2 separate regions of the Homo sapiens genome follow, and region 1 is linked to region 2. The links are contacts of gene promoters, found by promoter capture Hi-C in blood cells and fetal thymus (Javierre and others, 2016). All regions are on one chromosome and are shown on one strand. Each heading gives the region's core, a stretch centred on a gene start or on the middle of the fragment in contact. The rest is flanking DNA. Distances are from core to core; before and after follow the strand shown.

The links. The method cuts DNA at HindIII sites, captures the fragments that hold promoters and counts their contacts. A CHiCAGO score of 5 or more calls a contact.
Region 1: a fragment that was not itself captured here is called in contact with the fragment with the promoter of SHROOM1 in region 2 in 1 of 17 cell types (monocytes); the score reaches 5.1 in monocytes.

Annotation. Positions count from the first base shown.
Region 1 is chr5:132,276,398-132,280,483 of GRCh38, reverse strand. It overlaps LOC124901063 (a long non-coding RNA gene), which reads left to right and starts at 2,734. Exons shown (of 2, transcript XR_007058934.1): 1 at 2,734-2,777; 2 at 2,996-3,087. RefSeq lists an enhancer at 1,501-2,313 and a silencer at 2,974-3,268. The HindIII fragment of the contact is 1,375 bases long and covers 563-1,937 here.
Region 2 is chr5:132,828,211-132,832,279 of GRCh38, reverse strand. It overlaps SHROOM1 (shroom family member 1), which reads left to right and starts at 1,633. Exons shown (of 10, transcript NM_001172700.2): 1 at 1,633-1,686. RefSeq lists silencers at 1,325-1,744, 1,955-2,264. The HindIII fragment of the contact is 14,647 bases long and covers 1-4,069 here.

The sequences.
Region 1 (4,086 bases), core at 1-2,500, 550 kb after region 2:
CTGAAGGGGAGGAGTGGCTCCTTGACTGGGCCAGGTGGCCTCTGATCACTGTCCTCCCAGAACAAGTCCAGTGTGGCTGGAGTAAGAGCACAAAAGGAGGGTAGGGACAGTTTAGAAGGGATGTGGTTATTAGACAGCGCAAACAGCACAAACAACCCTAGACAATGAGCATCTGGGGAGGAATGGAGGAGCTAGGACAGGGCCTTGAGGAGTGGTGCCTCAGGGGCAGGCAAGAGAGTGGACAGGAACACTGGCTGGGAAGGCACAGGGTGACAGGACTGAGGAGAAAGAGACTTCTTCCACCCAGAAATCTCTTTCTGGGTGGTGAGACAGTCTCCAGCAATTGGAGAGAGAGCCCTGGGGGCTGGGAAGGGGCCAGTCCAGGCTGTCTCTCAGCAGGCTCCTGGAACCACGGAGGGTCAGTGAGTGGTGGGGATGACCCATTTAGCCGGGATCATGACCAGACGAGTGAGTCAAGCAGGCATGGTGGTAGGTTCATGCATATCAGAGTTGGTGATCAGGTGCTGTGGCACCAGCCTTGTCCACACTCAGATCCAAAGCTTCAGGGGTCACCTTTACTTTGTCCAGCTTCCACCATTCCATGCCCCATGCAAAAAGTTGGTAAGGTTGAGCCTGCACTCTGGGCTGTTCTGGGGACTTGCCAAGTGGAAACAGATCAGCACCCTTCAGAAATGGCTTGGTCAGAGTCACTAAACCATTGGTAGGCAGGCAACACTCTCCATGGAAGACTGGTATGCGCCGTTACTTTGGTTGCCCCTGCCATGGAGATTTGCTAGGGTGTGTGTGACCTTGGCAAGTTTTTTAACCTTTCTGAGCTCATCCATAAAATGGGGATAATAACCATACTTCCTTTCTGGTTGGTATGAGGATTAAAAACAATCATATCGTTCACTAAGGGCTTGGAGATGAAGGCCTGGGACACATTAGCTCCCATAATAGTTATTATCCAACTCCCTTCCCTTCTTCTGAGACTGTGGGTGTGCTCCAGCTTCCCATGAAAATTCAATTACAGACCAAGAACACCCTGGATGGCAGCTGAGTGTTCTTGCACTGCAGCCATTGTCAGTGAAGCTGGTGTGTGTGTGTGTGTGTGTGTGTGTGCGCGCGCGCGCGCGCGTGGGTGTCGGGGGTGGTGCATCAGCCTCTGAGCTTGGCTCACCGGGCCTGACAGACCCACTTAAGGGCTGGTTAATGCGGTTTCTGAGCCCACATGGCTGAGACCGACTCCAGACCCTGCAGGACCCAGTGAGGTCTCTAGCAGTCTCTCCTGGGATTTCTAGTCTCTGCATTCCAGCCACAAATGGATCTATGTCAGACACTAGCAAAGTTGAGGTTTGGTTTCTGTAGGGACCCAAATAGTTTCCCACTTGTGGTAGAGGGGACACAGGAGGACAGTGCTTGCTTATTAGAGAAACCTCTTCACTACCCTTAAACCTTTTTAGAGGTTCCACCTCCATTCAGAGGTGCTGTGGGAATGTTGTTAGAAAGACAGATTATTCTGTGAGAAAATGATAAACCAGGAAGTTACATGAAAAGCAAGTCAGGGGTCGGCCTGGGGTGCAAGACAAGAAGTTGGGTAAGAATGAGTTGTCCAGGATAGCACTGGAGTGCACGTAGCTGGACAGGGGCACCCAGAGGTGGAGGGGAGGTGGGGCACTCCCCAGGTGGGGCAGAGGGACTCAGGGCCCACAGCCCAGGCTTCTGGGCATCATGGTGTTGTGCAAGTCACAACACTGCTCCCACCCATCCAACTCAGCAGTTCAAGGGCTGTGAGCCCAGGGCCAAGCTAGCACACCCCCTAGAGGGGCTGAGTCCTTGGCCATGAAGGGAGGGCTGGCTTGAAGCTGCATCTGGGCTCCGCCTACCTTCACCCCTTTCTTTGGTTCTCTAGGAGGAAAGTATCAAATAACAAAGCTTGTCACTCAGAGAACCAGAAAGGACTCCATTTGTGTTTCAACCTCCTTGGAGGGTCAAGGAAGCCTGCAAGAGTCTTGAGGAGAGTTTGATGGGGCTGAACTTACAGATAAGCACAATGAGAGTTACAGAGGCACAAGTTGTCCACAGAGGCCAGCAGGGGCTGTGTACCTCATGTGGCCCTGTGAGCTGGGATTTGGAATTTAGACTCTGTCCTAAGAGCAGTGAGGAGCCATGGAAACTATAATAGGCAAGATTGACAGGGAATTGCACTTGAAAAACCTCCTTTAGCTGTTATGTAGAGAAAGGATTGAGGGAGGGGCCAGGCAGGAGACAGGGAGACAAGGCAGAGGCCCTTACACTGTTCAGCATGAGACAGTGGCGTCTGGACTGGGGAGAGTGGGCTAGTTTGGAATTAGTTAGGGATGAACGCAGTCATGCTTGCTAACTGGTTTTACTGCGTCTACCTTTGCCCCTTAGGGCCTATTCTCCATACAGCAGACAATGTGATCCTAGTTAAAACATAATTCCAGGTCATGCCGCTCCTCTGGCTTTTCATCTCAGAGTAAAAGTCAAAGTCCTTACCATGGCTGTAGGAGAACAGCCTGTTGCGTGGCAAGAATGATGCTTTTTTTTTTTTTTAACAGGGTCTCACTCTGTTGCCTAGGCTCGAGTGCAGTGGCAAGATCATAGCTCACTGCAGCCTCGAACTCCTGGGCTCAAGGGGTCCTCCCACCTCAGCCTTCTGAGTAGTTTGGACTATAGGTGCATGCCGCCACAGCTGGCTATTTTTTTTTTCATTTTTATTTTTTCTAGAGAGGGGGTCTCGCTATGTTGCCCAGGTTAGTCTCAAACTCCTGGCCTTGAAAGATCCTCCCGCCTTGGCCTCCCAAAGTGCTGGGATTACAGGTGTGGGCCACTGTTCCAGGCCACTTGATCCAAAACCACCGTAATGACCAATGTTTGACCCCTAGATGCCAAGATATTCATCAGCAAGATCTTTAAACAATGCCTGTAGAATAGAAAACTCTTCATAAAGATGCTTATTTAACCTCTCCAGTGGTCACGAGTCTTGGCAAGAAAGTCTGAAGACGGGACCAGCTGCACATGTTTTACCCTAAGAGCTTGCTATATAAAGGATACTTTCTGGAAGGCTGGTTGGTGTGAGGATTCAGTCTTGCAGCCACTCGAGACATCACTTCTGTTCGTAAGTCCCTCTTATATATTTCTCTCTGAGAAAATGGATTTGTCAACCTCTTTCTTTGGCTTCTCAGCTCTCTCGGCCTTTGGGTTTGCATAGTCCTGCTATCCATGGAACAATGGCTCACAAGGGCCAACACAGCCTTGTCTCCCTCACATCTCTCTGACGACCTCATCTACTACTTCCAGCCACCTCACTTATACTACTTCAGTCACTGCTTGCCTAGGGCCTTAGGATTTCCTGTGCCCTCTGCCTGGAATGTAATCCCCCCAGATACCTGCACAGATGATATCTTACCACCTCAGTTCTCTGCCCAAATGTTACCTTATCTGTGAGGCCTTTCCAGATTCCATATATGAAGAGAATCCCTTATGCTCTACTGTAATGCCTTCTTTATTTCCTTGATAGCACTGCTTATAGCCTGTAGTTATTTTACATGTTCGTTCAAAATGTTTTCCTAGGGTGCAACACAATGCCTGGCATATAGAAGGTTCTTAATAGGTATTTTTGTTTTTTGAGACAGAGTCTTGCTCTGTCACCCACGCTGGAGTGCAGTGGCGTGATCTTGGCTCACTGCAACCTCCACGTCCTGGGTTCAAGCAAGTCTCCTGCCTCAGCCTCCTGAGCAGCTGGGACTACAGGTGATTGCCACCACACCGGGATAATTTTTGTATTTTTAGCAGAGACGGGGTTTTGCCATGTTGGCCAGACTGGTCTTGAACTCCTGGCCTCAAGTGATCCCCCCCACCTTGGCCTCCCAAAGTGCTGGGATTACAGGCGTGAGCCACTGTGCATGACCTTTTAATAAATATTTAGTTGACTGAGTGAGTTGAGGTTGAGGATGCAGGAGGGAGCAGGTGCCCTCCAGGACAGCAGTCCCCAACCTTTTCGGCACCAGGGACTGGTTTTGTGAAAGACAACTTTTCCATGGATGGAGGGCAGGGATGGTT
Region 2 (4,069 bases), core at 384-2,883:
GCTGGGCTGTCTTTCTTCTATTTTGATGCTGCTGTGAGACTCTGTGGATCAGGGTCTTAAAAATATTAAAAGTCTTTCAGGCCGGGTGCGGTAGCTCATGCCTGTAATCCAGCACTTTGGGAGGCCAAGGTGGGTGGATCACCTGAGGTCACGAGTTTGAGACCAGCCTGGCCAACATGGCGAACCCCGTCTTTACTAAAAATACAAAAATTAGCTGGGCGTGGTGCCCGGTGCCTGTAATCCCAGCTACTTGGGAGGCTGAGGCAGGGAAAATTGCTTGAACCTGGGAGGCGCAGGTTTCAGTGAGCAGAGATCCGGCCACTGCACTCCAGCCTGGGCGACAGAGGGAGACTCTGTCTCAAAAAAGCAAAACAAACAACAAAAGTCTTTCAAAGCCGAAAGGTTCTTAGGCACTGTCTTAAAGCCTAGCGCTCCAGCTGAAGCTGGTGCCTGAGTCCAGATGGTGTTGAAGAAGGAGCAGGGCCCAGCGGGCACCACTCTCAGAAGTCGGGCTCAGGTGTCTCCTGCCTCCGAACCCAAGAAGACCCAAGAAGACAGAGTTCCTCAGGCTCCCAGTGTCCCTAGGAAGTGGCAACCTTGACTCTTGGCCAGAGTTCAGAGTCCTGGTTATTAACACCAATAAACCTTTATTTGCCAGGGATACTACCATGGGAGGACACAGCCCCTGAGCCCAGCCCTGTTGATCCTGTGGGAGCGGGAGGGCAGCGGAGGACAAAGGCAGAGACCTGAGAGCCGGAGAGGCTCATCAAAGGGTCCCCAGCCCCTCTCAGGAACGGAGCATTTCTTGGCAGAGTGGTATTCATAGGACAGAGTTTGGGAAGTCGGGGCAGGGGAGCCTGAGGACACAGCAAGGAGAGCTCAGTGGCAGGTGCAGGCAGAGCGTTCTTTGGAAAATGGAGATCCTGGAAGGTGAGGGCCTCGAGCGCCAGTGTCCAGCCTTAGTGGGTATGCATATGTCCAGCTCCCTAAGGACACACTCAGGACAGCTAAGGTGCACACAAGTCCAGGGGCTTCCCCGTGCTCCGCCCCCCTCTCCCCCACCCCGGTAGCAGGCTGGAGGGCCCAGACCATGCTGGGTAGTGGGAGAAATGGAAAGAAATGGGACAGGGAACAGGAGACAAGAGCCCATGGTGGGAGTCAAAGAGCTGGAAGAGTTTTGGAAATGGGGGTCTGGGGGTAGAGTTGATCAAGGGCCGAGTTACTCAGCGGGACAGGTGGGAGGCACGAGGCCCTGGCAGCTCTGTTTTCTTGGCCGGGCTTGGGGGGGAAAGCGGGTAGCCGTCAGGCGCCTAAGGGCCCGCCCTGGACCTCCCCACCGAGGGAGGTGTCAGGCCCCGAGGGACCCGGCCCCCGAGCATCACGGACGCGCTGGAGGCCGGTGGGCGGTCGCCGTAGTCGCCCTCCCACCACCTCGCTCAGGTTTCTCCGGCCTGGGGCAAGAGGCCTGTGGCCCGCGCGGGAACGCACTGTCCACCCTCAGACCTGGGACTGGGCCGGCGCGCGGACGCTACCAAGAGGCTGCGGCTCCCGCCCCCGCGGCCGGACGTGGCGCCTCCCCTGAGGCCGCGGCCGGAGCCTGGAGGTGGGGTCGGAGTCAGAGCCCGGGGCTCTGATGTCACCGCGCGGCTGCGACGGCCCAGGAGCGCGTCTCGGCGGGAGCCTCAGGTACGCGGCGGGGGCGGGGGAGCGGGAAGCGGGCGGCTGGGTCCGCTTCCCCCGGGAGGCCGGCGGGGCTGCGGGCGGACGGGGGTGAAGAGCGGGCGGCGAGGCGGTGGTCGCGGGGCAGCCCGGGCATCGTTCGGCCGGGACGTGTCTGGCTCGGCGCCGCGTCAGGTTGCGCCAGTGGAGTCGGACCCCAGCGCGCCTCTCCCAGCTGCAGAGCTGCAGGGCGGAGAGGCGGCCCACTCTAAGCTGGCGGCGCGGCTCAGGGGCGCGGCTGGGCGCGCCGCGTGTGGCGCCGGCGGGCAGCGCGGTCTCACTCCGCCACCCTCCGCTCCTGCCCTTTGTCGCCAAGCATCTGGAGAAGCCGGGTCCTTCCCTCCCGGGCTCGCGCTGTCCCCTGCGCGCGATCCTTCCCCGACGGTGAACCCAACGGGAAAGGCCCAGAACTGCGCGGGGCTGCGGCCATCTGCTGTCGAGCCGCTCCGCGTGTCTCTGCCGCCCCCTGCGGCCGCCGGGGCCTGCGCCTCTCTCCCTCCCGTGCCTCGGCTCCCAGAGATTGAACCCCAGGTAACCGGGTCTGTCCACGCCCGCGGCCGCCTCTCCCCGGGTGTCGCCAGCTTCCTGCATTTCCTGTGCATGGCACGGAGCTCGGGTCTCCAGAGACTCTGCATCTGGGGTGCAGCGACCGATGAGCCCGTAAACCAGTCGCACACTCGGAGCGTGGATGCTGCGTGGGGTGCGCTGTCAGCGCGGACAGGCTGGGAGAACGGGGGACGCTGGGGACAGGGAGAGCCGGTGAACTTCCCAGAACGTCCGCCTAGCCAGACCCAGCTGCGGGTACTGGGTTTTGAGACGTGGTCCAGTACCCAGGAACTCAGTCTGACAGGGAGACAGCGCCTACACAGTGAGCCCAGTACTGAGGGAAGACCCGCTGGGAGGGGCGGCCTGGATAGCCCCTCCACAGAGAGGTCAGATGTGAGGTGGCCTTGAGGGAGGTATGATGTAAATCCTGATCATTCGTTGTATTTGAGGCTGTCCGTTCTCCTGTGCCTCCTCGGTCGCCTTACTTGGATCTGTTCCCATTGCCTTGGTGTGATTTTATCCACCGGAAACTGTCTTCAGCTATTTCCCCAGTAACCTCTAACTAAAAACCTGGGTCTTGCCTGGTCTACCCTCCCCTGCTGAACTCCAGAGCCACATCCCAACTGCTGCCTGACTTGTCACAGACACCATGAAGCCCAGACTGAAGGAGCACTGGCCCCCTTGACAATTCCTCAGCCCCAGCTCCTCCTTTCAGACTGGTGCCTCCACCTGCCAGACCCCTAGCTTTGAAGGCCAATCTCATCTTCGTCTCCTTCCTCTCTGGCTCCTTCATTCAGGTGACAAGTATACATCAAATGCCCACCCCAACTCCCCCTCCCAGGACTCCAATCTGGTGTCTTTCTAGCGGGGAGTCTAGGTTGCTCCCTCTGCTCTGGAGAGGCTTGGCAAAATGCCTGCAGAGCTCCTTGAGCTCCACCTCTGAACTCCCTTTCAGCAGCCGGCACAGGCATAACAGCCCAGCCCACAGGTACCACTGCCACTGAGGCAGGGACCCCTAAGGTAGGGCTACCCCCAGCCACAGGGGCTGGCTGGACTGCAAGAGGCTCCCTGCAGCCAGACAAGTATGAAAATGCCTTGTTGTTTTGTGCTGAGGCCCCCCAAAACACACCAAAGCAGCTGGGCCCTCTTGGCATGGTAGGTTCTGCAAAGCACCCACTGTGAGGAGCCTGCGTGAACATCAACCTGATAGGGCCACCAGTGCAAAAGCATCTTCAACAAGTTACAGTCAATAAGGAAACACATGTGTAGACACATTTTTATTGCCCATTCAAGCTGTTTTTATTTGCTGAATTCAGAATCCTTTAACATAGTAACTCACAAATAAGATAGATTTTCATAGATTTTCAAGACCTCTTTTGAGGAAACATCTTGTGTTTGGTGATCCCCATCTGTAGCTGCAGCAAGCCAAAATGGGCAGGATGGGTGACATGAGCTAGTGCTCCCAAGCTGGACTCAGAAAGAGTAGGAAGAGAAAGGGCTAATGTCTGAGCAGTCGGGTGGGCTTCCTAGATGAGGGGACTGTCCTCCCAGGAGCTGCTACTCAGAGTAGTTTCTTGTCCTCCTAAAGTTTAGAGTGGAAATACTTTGCAAAAGAGGTCCCCAACCCTAAGTGTGAGGGCTAAGCTCCTGGGCTTAGTAGGCATATACAAATGCCCCCAGGTGGGTGACATCAAGATGTTCTGGTCCTAGGTCTGCTGAGAGCCTCTCCTGGGAATGTTGTAGGTACTGCCTTTCCCTTTTAGGAAACACCATATCCTCCTACCACTAACCCCCATCCTTGCCC